Regions from separate parts of the Homo sapiens genome. Here all the other regions are linked to region 1. Evidence: promoter capture Hi-C in human tissues and cell types (Jung and others, 2019). All regions are on one chromosome and are shown on one strand. Each heading gives the region's core, a stretch centred on a gene start or on the middle of the fragment in contact. The rest is flanking DNA. Distances are from core to core; before and after follow the strand shown. Region 1 holds the start of ZNF69 (zinc finger protein 69). Region 2 overlaps ZNF563 (zinc finger protein 563). Region 3 overlaps LOC124904638 (a long non-coding RNA gene).

Region 1 (3,563 bases), core at 638-3,137:
CAAGTAAGCTTTTCCTTTTAAAAGATCAAATCAAACAGCAAAGCCAAAACACGTTAAAAAAGTTTAAAGAGAAAAAATCATAAGAAAATTAAAAGGGAGGAATTGTAACATACAGTAAATTTCTCTGAGTTTCTTTTTTTTTTTTTTTTTGAGACGGAGTCTCACTCTGTCACCCAGGCTGGAGTGCAGTGGCGTGATCTCGGCTCACTGCAAGCTCTGCCTCCTGGGTTCATGCCATTCTCCTGCCTCAGCCTCCCGAGTAGCTGGGACTACAGGCGCCCACCACCACGACTGGCTAATTTTTCGTATTTTTTAGTAGAGACGGGGTTTCACCATGTTAGCCAGGATGGTCTCGATCTCCTGACCTCGTGATCTACCCGCCTCAGCCTCCCAAAGTGCTGCGATTACAGGCGTGAGCCACCGCGCCTGGCCTCTCTGAGTTTCTCTTCAAAGACTTAGCCTGCTAACTTCCTTGTCTTTTGTTCTCCAGCTCAACTTTCCTGTTCCTCCTTGCCCCTAGTTACTGTAAAACAGCCTACCCCCTTCCCGTCAGCTCTAATCAATAACTCACATCTGTTCCCTTGGTTACCTGTACCCATTGTTCCCCCGAAACTGCACGTCTCACACGCTCCATCTCTGTACCTCACGTTCCCCTCTCCTTCTATATTTAGAAAAATACGTACAAGTAGCCAGTCGGGTCAGCTCAGATTGTGTGGTCGAACCCCAGCCCATGAAGGAGTGACACAGAGATAGGGACCGCATTAAGGATAAAAAAACCCCCGGTGACCTTTGTTCTCTGTGCTCTTGTGATCTTGATTGACACAAGTGGCACACTTCTGCAGAAGTAAATTGCCTTGCTAAACAAATGAAACTTTCCCCTAAGTGCTAGTTTTACTTCGTGGGACCAAGAATTTATTCCTAAAGCATTTTATATCCGACAGAGATATTCATATATATAAAGAAAATGTGGGCCAGGCGCGGTGGCTCACGCCTGTAATCCCAGCACTTTGGGTGGCCGAGGCGGGTGGATCACTTGAGGTCAGGAGTTCAAGACCAGTCTGGTCAACATGGTGAAACCTTGTCTCTACTAAAAATACAAAAAATTAGCCAGGCGCGGTGGCATGTGCCTGTAATCCTAGCTGCTGGGGAGGCTGAGGCAGGAGAATCACTTGAACCCAGGAGGCGGAGGTTGCAGTGAGTGGAGATTGCACCACTGCACTCCAGCCTGGGGGGACAGAGCGAGGCTCTGTCTCAAAAAAAAAAGAAAAGAAAATGTGTGAAGATCAGGCTAGAGACAGAAATGTTTGGGAGCGTCACCTGGATAAAGGGTTCATGAAGTTGGCAGTTTATTTAGGTCAAAAGCTTAACTTAACCCCTGGAGAGAGTTTCCTGCTGGTGAAAATGAAGATCTGGAAGGAGGAAGCATTTTCACACTGTGAGGAGGGGATGGGGGTGTGAGAGCAAGTCTTAGCCATGCCTCATCCCCAGTTGCGGCCCGCTCCAAGACATATGCCTCTCCTCCTGGCGCAGTCGTGTCTGGCCTGGTCTCGGTTCCCCTGCTGCTCTGAGGCAGGAGATGGCTCCTGTGGACACTGAATCTGAAATTCCCTGCACACTCCTGTGACCCCATGCAGAACGAAGGAGCAGGGACAGTCCCTTGAGTGAGGAAGACGCTAGTGTTCTCCTCTATCAATAGCAAGTTTGGCTGAAATGCAAATATCCAATAACCAGAGTGCAGGAAGGAGCTCGCCCTTGGAAAAGCTGTGGTCAGAATCCGTCTGTCTGGCTCTGCAGGGCCCGATACCCAGGGCTTCCGCTGTCACTCAGACATGGGGGGCGGGGCCTAGCATTCCATCCAATCAGAGGCATTGTGGCGGGTCCCTGCCCACTGTTCCTCCAGACACTGAGGGGGTCGCATTCCTTACCTCACCTTTGTCCCTGCGCGGGCTGCGGCTGGGATCCGGTCTTTCCAGCCCCGAGAGGGACCTGGTTCCTCTGCCCAGGCTTCTGTCACTCTGTCACCTACGCTATGCCCTGCTGTAGTCACAGGAGGTGTAGAGAGGACCCCGGGACATCTGAAAGCCAGGAAATGGTGCGTGTCTGGGGCCGGGTGTCGTGAGACGGGGGAGGGGCTGCCTGGACCGACCGGAACCGACTGTGGCGAGACCCTGGCTTTCCTGCGGGCGACTTTGGGATCTGGGACCGAGTCCTCCTGGAGCCGCTCGGCCCTCGGTCCCCTCGACTGCTCGGTGTGGCTGGGCCGGTAGCCGGGACACCAGGCGTCCTGTCTCGTCTCTGCGCGGCGACTGCGGTTCCAGAGCCCTCTATGGGCAGCTCCGCGCCCGCAGCCACGCGTCTACCCAGATTGTGCGGGGGCCACGGGAGGGTCATGTGGGTGATCCCGACTCGGGTGTGGGGTTCGTGCTTGGGAGGAGCAGCGGTCTGTGGGGCCCCCAGTGTCCACTTTTTCTCCTGTTAAAAATTAAACTGAGGAACGTTAACAAAGAGTTCATTTGAGCAAACAGCGATTCACGAATGAGACACACCCAGTCCTGGCTTGTGGTTTGTCAACGGAAAAAGCCAAACTATGTAAAATAAAGAAGTTTATTCGGAGCCGAATAGGAGAGACCTTGGCCGAGGGAAAAACAACCCCAAGAAGCCTGGAGTAAGTGGTCCCGAGGCGGCTCAAGACAGTTTGGTTTTATTCATTTTAGAGAGACAGGAATTGCAGGGAAAATCATGAATTAGTGCCTGGAAGGTGTAATTTCCTTAGGCAGAAAGGGAGGGACCTGGCCGGGCACGGTGGCTCACGCTTGTAATTCCAGCACTTTGGGAGGCCAAGGCGGGCGGATCACCTGAGGTCAGGAGTTCAAGACCAGCCTGGCCAACATGGTGAAACCCCGTCTCTACTAAAAATATAAAAAAGAAACTAGCCGGGCGTGATGGTGGACGCCTGTAATCCCAGCTACTCGGGAGGCTGAGACAAGAGAATTACTTGAATCCAGGAGACAGGTTGCAGTGAGCCCACACAGTGCCACTGCACTCCAGCCTCAGCACAGAGTGCGACTCTGTCTCAAAACAAAAACAAAAACAAAAAACAGAAAGGGCGGGACCTGTGGAAGGGGGGTTAGAAGGCACAGGTGGTTGAGGGATTCTGTAGGTGGCAGCTGGTTGAGAGTGTGAAGCTTTGTCTAAAGTTTGGAGGAGGTAGGAAGGAATGCTGAAGGAAGGGGGTCTGTTATCTGCCACTTGATTCCATCCCAGCCAAAAAACAGACCTGTTTCTCTAGATTTTATGAATTCTAAGGTGTGACTTACCCTTGTCTTGCGTGGCCTTAGGTCTTGTTTGTAATTTGGTATCTTCTTGCCACAAGGAGTCTGTTTTTCCAGTCAGATAATGTCTGTTTTTACATGAATGTGCGTCAGTTGCTGCATGTAAACTCCTAAAGGGAGAGGGTATAAGGAGGCCTGTCTCACCTCCCATCCTGTCATACAGAGGCACTCAATTTTCAGGGTTTTTTGGGGGTTCCCTTGGCCAAGAGCCGGTCACTTCACTTACCTGGG
Region 2 (3,563 bases), core at 534-3,033, 430 kb after region 1:
AGGAAGGAGTTTCAGGCCAGCAAGGTCTGGCTTAGCTAGCTACACAATGCATTAGAGCTTCAAGAACTTGAAGAACATGGGAGAATTGGCCTTGGCTGATGCAAAGGAAACATCAGCATTCCTAGAAAAGCTCATGAAACTCATTAAAAAAAAAAAAAAAAAAGAGGCTAACTTCCAGAGCAAATCCTCCATTGTAATGAATCAGGCATGTTCTGGAAGAGGATGCCCAATTGTACCTTCATCACAAGAGTACAAAGAAAGCCTTGGGGTTCATGACTTGGAAAGATTGCCTTACTCTGGTGCTACGTGGCAATGCAGCAGGTCATAAGATCAAACAAAGCCTCCTCTACTAAGTAAACAATCCGTGGGTCCTTGAAAACAAAAGCGAAACTTGCCTGCCCGTGTCCTGACAAAAACACACGAGGACTTGGTTCTACCACTGCTTCATTCCTGATGTGAATGAATACCTTGAAAAGAAGGGGCTGCCACTCAAGGCCCTCCTCATAACTGACAACGCTCCTGGCATCTCTCTTCTCTCTGTTATGCCGATAAAAATGGGGAAGTGATGTTCCTGCCTCCTAAAACTACATCACTGCTACAACTACTTGATCAAAGCATCATCAAGTGCCTCAAGGTGTCTTACACCCACTGGACTTTTGGAAGGATTTATGCTGTCTTGATAATAACCCTCACCATGTCATACAGGATTTATGGAAGAGCTTCCCAACTGCAGAAACGATTGTGTTTATTGCGGAGGCTGTAAATGCCCTACAGCTCAAGACAGCCAAAGTGTGTTGGAAGCCATTATGGAGTGAGGAAGTCAATGATTTCAGGCGCTTCTGCACTATCGATATGATAGTCAGAAATATCTTAAATGTAAGGAAAGTTGGTGGGGAAGGCTATCTCTGACACAAGTGAAGACAATGTTGAGGAACACACAGAAGAGCAAAGAAGAAACCTTTACTAACAAGGAACTAGAAGATATGCTGAAATCCTCTATAGATGATGATGATGATGATGTAGATTTAGAAGAGGCAGTGCCGCCAGGCGTGGTGGCTCACGCCTGTAATCCCAACAGTTTGGGAGGCCGAAGCGGGTGAATCACCTGAGGTCACGAGTTTAAGACCAGCCTGGCCAACATGGTGAAACCCCGTCTCTACTAAAAATACAAAAATTAGCTGGGTGTGGTGGCGGGCACCTGTAATCCCAGCTACTTGGGAGGCTGAGGCATGAGAATCGCTTGAACCCAGGAGGCAGTGTTTGCAGTGAGCCGAGATCGTGCCACTGCACTCCAGCCTGGGTGACAGAGTGAGACTCAGTCTCAATAAATAAATAAAGAGGCAGTGCCATAAGTGGTGGCTCATGCCTGTAATCCCAGCATTCTGAGAGGCCAAGGCAGGCAGATCACTTGAAGTCACAGGGAGTTCAAAACCAGCTTGGCAAACATGGCGAAACCCTGTCTCTACTAAAAATACAAAAATTAGCTGGGCATGGTGGTGCATGCCTGTATTCCCAGCTACTTGGGTGGCTGAGGCAGGAGGATCACTTGAACTTGGGAGGTGGAGGTTGCAGTGAGCTGAGATTGTAATCCCAGCTCCTCAGGTGGCTGATGCAGGAGGATCACTTGAACCTGGGAGGTGGAGGCTGCAGTGAGCTGAGATTGCACCACTGCACTTCAGCCTCAGCGACAGAGTGAGACTCTGTCTGAAAAAAAAAAAAAGAAGCAGTGCTATAGATTTTGATACTTGAAAAATCTGAAGGCTGGGTGTGGTGGCTCACCCTGTAATCCTAGTAATTTGGGAGGCCAAGGCAGGCAGATCTCTTGATTCCAGGAGTTCAAGACCAGCCTGGGAAACATGGTGAAACCTTGTCTCCACAAAAAACACAAAAAGTAGCCAGGCATCGTGATGTGTGCCTATAATCCCAGCTACTTGGGAGGCTGAGGTGGGAAGATCACTTGAGCCCAGGAAGTTGAGGCTGCAGTGAGCCATGCACTGTAGGGTGACAGAGTGAGATCTTGTCTTAAAAAAAAAAAAAAAGAAAAGAAAAAGAAAAAAAAAGAAAAATTGGAAGCAGTTTTAGGGCACCTACAGCTTCTACAAGGCGCAAGTGTTAAAGATTATCATCCTCAATTAAGATTCTTCCATGGAACAAAGCCTCCATGTCACCCCAGAGATTACATGCTCACAAACGTTGCAAAGTTTAAAAAAAAAAAAACTAGCTTCCTACAATGTTTCTAATTAAATATCTGCAAATATGAAGACAGCCTTCAATGCTTAAAGATCTTCAGTCCTCAAATTGAACAGATTCTGACATTAGTATTATTTAGACTGCTCCAAAAATTCAGTATCTGCAGTCAGAATCTGTTTCTTCCAATATAGTTGATCATGTTGACATCCTGTCAAGATTCGAGTTAGCCTGAGGTCTCACTGCTTATCTGTGGTGTCACACATCTAGCTGACTCAACACATCACAACATTAGGCACGATATTGCAATAATCATCATTACACTTTTGTTGGGTGAATGTTAACACATTTTCAGGTCATTAAACAAAAGCAATCTATGAGTGTTGAAAGAAAAGATTTATAATGCTCTAGGTGACATGTATTATGTGGGTGGGTCTGTACTGAATATGTGTAGGGTCTTTCTCATATCATGATTCACTAAACAATATAATAACAACTATTTACATAGCTTCTATGATGCATGATGTATTTTAACTAATCTACAGATGATTTAGAGTATACAGGAGGATGTGGGTAGGTTACATGCAAATATTTTTTATTGTTATTATTTTTTTGAGACAGGGTCTCATTCTGTTGCCCATGCTAGAATGCAGTGATGTGATTTTGACTCACCGCAACCTCAACCTCCCAGGCTCAAGCGATCCTCCCACCTCAGCTTCCCTAGTAGCTGGGACTACAGGTACATGTCACCACACCTGGCTAATTTGTGTATCTTCTGTAGAGACAGGGTTTTGCCACATTACCCAGGCTGGCCTCTAACTCCTGGGCTCAAGTGATCCACCTGTCTTGGGCTCCTAAGGTGCTAGGATTACAGAGGTGAGCAACTGTGTCTAACCCAAATATGTCTTTTCTTTCTTTCCTTTTTTTTTTTTTTTGTGTGTGTGACAGAGGTTGTTTTGCTCTTGCTGCCCAGGCTGGAGTGCAGTGGCGCGATCTTGGCTCACCGCAACCTCCGCCTCCCGGATTCAAGTGATTATCCTGCCTCAGCCTCCTGAGTAGCTGGGATTACAGGCATGTGCCATCACATCCGGGTAATTTTGTACCAAATATGTCATTTTTAAAAAAGGACTTGGCATGTGTCGATTTATGTATGCCCAGGGGGTGGTAGAACCACGCTCCTGCAAATATTAGGGGATAACTGTATTTGAAAGAAACTGAGGCTTAAAATTAAGGCTTTACTATGTGTTTACATTCATAGGGTTTATCTCCAATGAGAATTATTTCTATCTGAAATGAAATAACATTAAAGAATACTTCCCTACATTTCACACATTTATAGAGTATCTCTCCAGTGAGTCCTTTTATGTCTATGCAAG
Region 3 (3,563 bases), core at 1,059-3,558, 300 kb before region 1:
AGGAGAATCGCTTGAACCCGGGAGGCAGAGGTTGCAGTGAGCTGAGATCGCACCATTGCACTCTAGCCTGGGTGGTAGAGCAAGACTCTGTCTCAAAAAATAATAATAATAAATTAAAAGATTAAAGAATAAGCTGGCACAGTGGCTCACACCTGTCATCCCAACACTTTTTGTAGAGACCTCATCTCTTAAAAATAAAATTAGCTGGGCGTGGTTGTGTGCACCTGTAGCCCAGCTACTCAGGAGGCTGAGGTGGGAGCATTGCTCAGGAGGTCGAGGCTGCAGTGAGCCATGATTGCACCACTGCACTCCAGTCTGGGTGACAGAGCTGATACACTGTCTCTAAAAAATAATAATAATTGACCGGGCGCAGTGGCTCACGCCTGTAATCCCATCACTTTGGGAGGCCGAGGCGGGCGGATCACGAGGTCAGGAGATCGAGAGCAACATGGCTAACACGGTGAAACCCCGTCTCTACTAAAAATACAAAAAAATTAGCTGGGCGTGGTGGTGGGCGCCTGTAGTCCCAGCTACTCGGGAGGCTGAGGCAGGAGAATGGCATGAACCTGGGAGGTGGAGCTTGCAGTGAGCCAAGATCGCGCCACTGCACTCCATCCGGCTTGGGTGACAGAGCGAGACTCCATCTCAAAAAAAAAATTAATAATAATAATTATTATTATAGTAGTAAAAGAGTATAGAATAAAATGCATCACACTTATAAAATGTAAAATGTTAATTTCAATCCACTAAACTTATAAACGGACCCAAATATGCATCCAATGACCTCTTAAAGTGATATTTCTTTTTCTTTTTGTTGAGATGGAGTCTCACTCACTCTGTCACCCAAGCTGGAGCGCAGTGGTGTGATCTTCAGCTCGTCCCAACCTCCGTCTCCCAGGTTCAAGCGATTCTCCTGACCTCAAGTGATCCGTCTGCCTTGGCATCCCAAAGTGCTGGGATTACAGGCCTGAGGCCAGGCCCTGAATTAATTTTTTGATGTTTCACTTTGCCAGGTGTATAAGTAACATGTTAGTTGTGATTGTAACTAAATAAAGGCTTAAGGGAAACCGTGTTTCTAAATTTCTAAATTGACTACACATTTACAAAGGAACCCACAAAGATGGATTTTTGGGCCGGGCGCAGTGGCTCACGCCTGTAATCCCAGCACTTTGGGAGGCTGAGGCAGACAGATTGCCTGAGTTCAGGAGTTCAAGATCAGCCTAGGCAACAAGGTGAAACCCTTTCTCTACTAAAATACAAAAAAATTAGCTGGGCATGGCAGCGAGCACCTGTAATCCCAGCTACTTGGGAGGCTGAGGCCGGAGAATTGCTTGAACCAGGGAGGCAGAGGTTGCAGTGAGTCGAGATCACACCACCGCACTCCAGCCTGGGCAACACAGTGAGACTCGATCTTAAAAAAAAAAAAAAAAGATGGACTTTTTCGGGGCCCCAAGGCTTCAAAATTCAAAATGCTGTCATGAGTTAGTTTGATTTGAGGAACCAAAAATTGGCTTTTGTGGCTGGAGCAGAGTGAGCAAGGGGGAAGTGAATCCGGAAGGTTGAGTCTGCAAGGTCAAGGGCAAGGAACAGAGAAGGGTGTGGGTGGGGCAGGTTGCGTGTGCTCTTGGGGGCTGCAGGGAAGGGGGCTTTTATCTGGGTAAGGTGGGAGCCACAGAGGGTTCTGATCAGAGGGACAGATCTGACTTAGATTTTGCATGATGTCCCCCAGCTGTGGGCTGCGGGGCATGGGCTGCTGAATAGGTGGTTTAGGTGGGCAAAGATGGGTCATGGTGCCCCCTACCCTTTAAAAATTAAAAGACAGGGCCAGGAGCAGTGGCTCACGCCTGTAATCCCAGCACTTTGGGAGGCTGAGGTGGGCGGATCACCTGAGGTCAGGTGTTTGAGACCAGCCTGACCAACAAGGTGAAACCCCATCTCTACTAAAAATACAAAAAAAATTAGCTGGGCGTGGTGGCAGCCACCTGTAATCCCAGCTACTCGGGAGGCTGAGGCAGGAGAATCGCTTGAACCCGGGAAGCAGAGGTTGCAGTGAGCCAAGATCGTGCCACTGCACTCCAGCCTGGGCGACAAGAGCAAGACTGTCTCAAATAATAATAATAGGCCGGGTGTGGTGGCTCACACCTGTAATCCCAGCACTTTGGGAGGTTGAGGTGGGTGGATCACTGGAGCCCAGGAGTTTGAGACAAGCCTGGGTGACACAGTGAGACCCCATCTAAATTATTATTATTATTATTATTTGAGACAGAGTCTTGCTCCATCACCCAGGCTGGAGTGCAGTGGCGCGATCTTGGCTCACTGCAAGCTCCGCCTCCCGGGTTCACGCCATTCTCCTGCCTCAGCCTCCCAAGTAGCTGGGACTACAGGTGCCCGCCACCACGCCCAGCTAATTTTTTGTATTTTTTAGTAGAGACGGGGTTTCACCATGTTAGTAAGGATGGTCTGGATCTCCTGACCTTGTGATCCGCCTGCCTTGGCCTCCCAAGGTGCTGGGATTACAGGCGTGAGCCACCATGCCCAGCCTGAATTTTTTTTCTTAAAGATTAAAAAGGCAGAGCCTCTCTGCTCCTCCCATTTGACAGACAGCCACATCTTTTCATGCAGTGAAAAAGGCATGTCCCCGAGACACCGTGGTGAAAGTGAAGACAGGAGTAAATGGATTTGGCCATATTGGGTGCCTGGTCACCAGGGCACCAGAGCTGCTTTTAACTCTGGCAGAATGGATGTTGTCACCTCAATGACCCCTTCATTGACCTCAACTACATGGTCTACATGTTCCAATATGATTCTACCCACGGCAAGTTCCGCGGCACCATCAAAGCTGAGAAGTGGGCTGGGTGTGGTGGCTCATGCTTGTAATCTCAGCTACTTAGGAGGTTGAGGTGGGAGGATCACTTGAGACCAGGAGTTCAGGACCAGCCTAGGCAACATAGGGAGATCCTCTCTCTCTTAAAAAAAAAAAAAAAGAAAAGAAAAGACTGAGAAAGAGAAGGGAAGCTTGTCATCAATAGGAAATGGGAATCTCATCCCCATCTTCTAGAAGCCAGATCCCAGCAAAATCAAATTGGGTGACGATGCTGGCACTGGTTATGTCATGGAGTCCACCAGCAGCATCTTCACGACCATGGGGAAGGCTGGGGCTCGCTTAGGATGGGCAGCCAAAGGGATCACCATCTCTGCCCCCTCTGCCCATGCCCCCATGTTTGTGATGGACATGAACCATGAGAGATACAAAAACCTCATGATCGTCAGCAATGCCTCCTGCACCACCAACTGCTTACCCTCCGGCCAAGGTCATCCGTGACAACGTTTTTTTTTGGTTTGGTTTGGTTTTCTTTCTTTCTTTTTTCTTTTTTTGTTTTAAATAGGGATGGAGGCCAGGTGCAGTGACTCATGCCTGTAATCCCAACACTTTGGGAAGCTGCGGTTGGAGGATCACTTGAGCCTAGGAGTTCAAGACCAGCCTGGCCAACATAGCAAGACTCTGTCTCTACAAAAAGTTTAAAAAAATTATCCAGGCATGGTGGGGTGTATCTGTAGTCCCA

What was found. Contacts are between HindIII fragments. The study calls those that stand out against the background at their distance.
Region 2: a fragment that was not itself captured here is called in contact with the fragment with the promoter of ZNF69 in region 1 in 1 of the 25 tissues and cell types used here (dorsolateral prefrontal cortex).
Region 3: a contact is called between a fragment that was not itself captured here and the fragment with the promoter of ZNF69 in region 1, in 2 of the 25 tissues and cell types used here (dorsolateral prefrontal cortex and pancreas).

The regions. Positions count from the first base shown.
Region 1 is chr19:11,885,895-11,889,457 of GRCh38, forward strand. It overlaps ZNF69 (zinc finger protein 69), which reads left to right and starts at 1,888. Exons shown (of 4, transcript NM_001364730.1): 1 at 1,888-2,092. The coding sequence starts at 2,030. RefSeq lists an enhancer at 2,085-2,134. The HindIII fragment of the contact is 10,336 bases long and covers 686-3,563 here.
Region 2 is chr19:12,314,370-12,317,932 of GRCh38, forward strand. It overlaps ZNF563 (zinc finger protein 563), which reads right to left. Exons shown (of 4, transcript NM_145276.3): 4 at 3,108-3,563. Among named protein-coding and RNA genes, the nearest start is that of ZNF563, 17 kb to the right of the region's middle. The HindIII fragment of the contact is 6,161 bases long and covers 1-3,563 here.
Region 3 is chr19:11,582,598-11,586,160 of GRCh38, forward strand. LOC124904638 (a long non-coding RNA gene) reads left to right here. Exons shown (of 2, transcript XR_007067140.1): 2 at 820-1,067. It also overlaps the pseudogene GAPDHP76. Among named protein-coding and RNA genes, the nearest start is that of ACP5, 6.7 kb to the left of the region's middle. RefSeq lists enhancers at 1,288-1,427, 1,438-1,497. The HindIII fragment of the contact is 7,524 bases long and covers 1-3,563 here.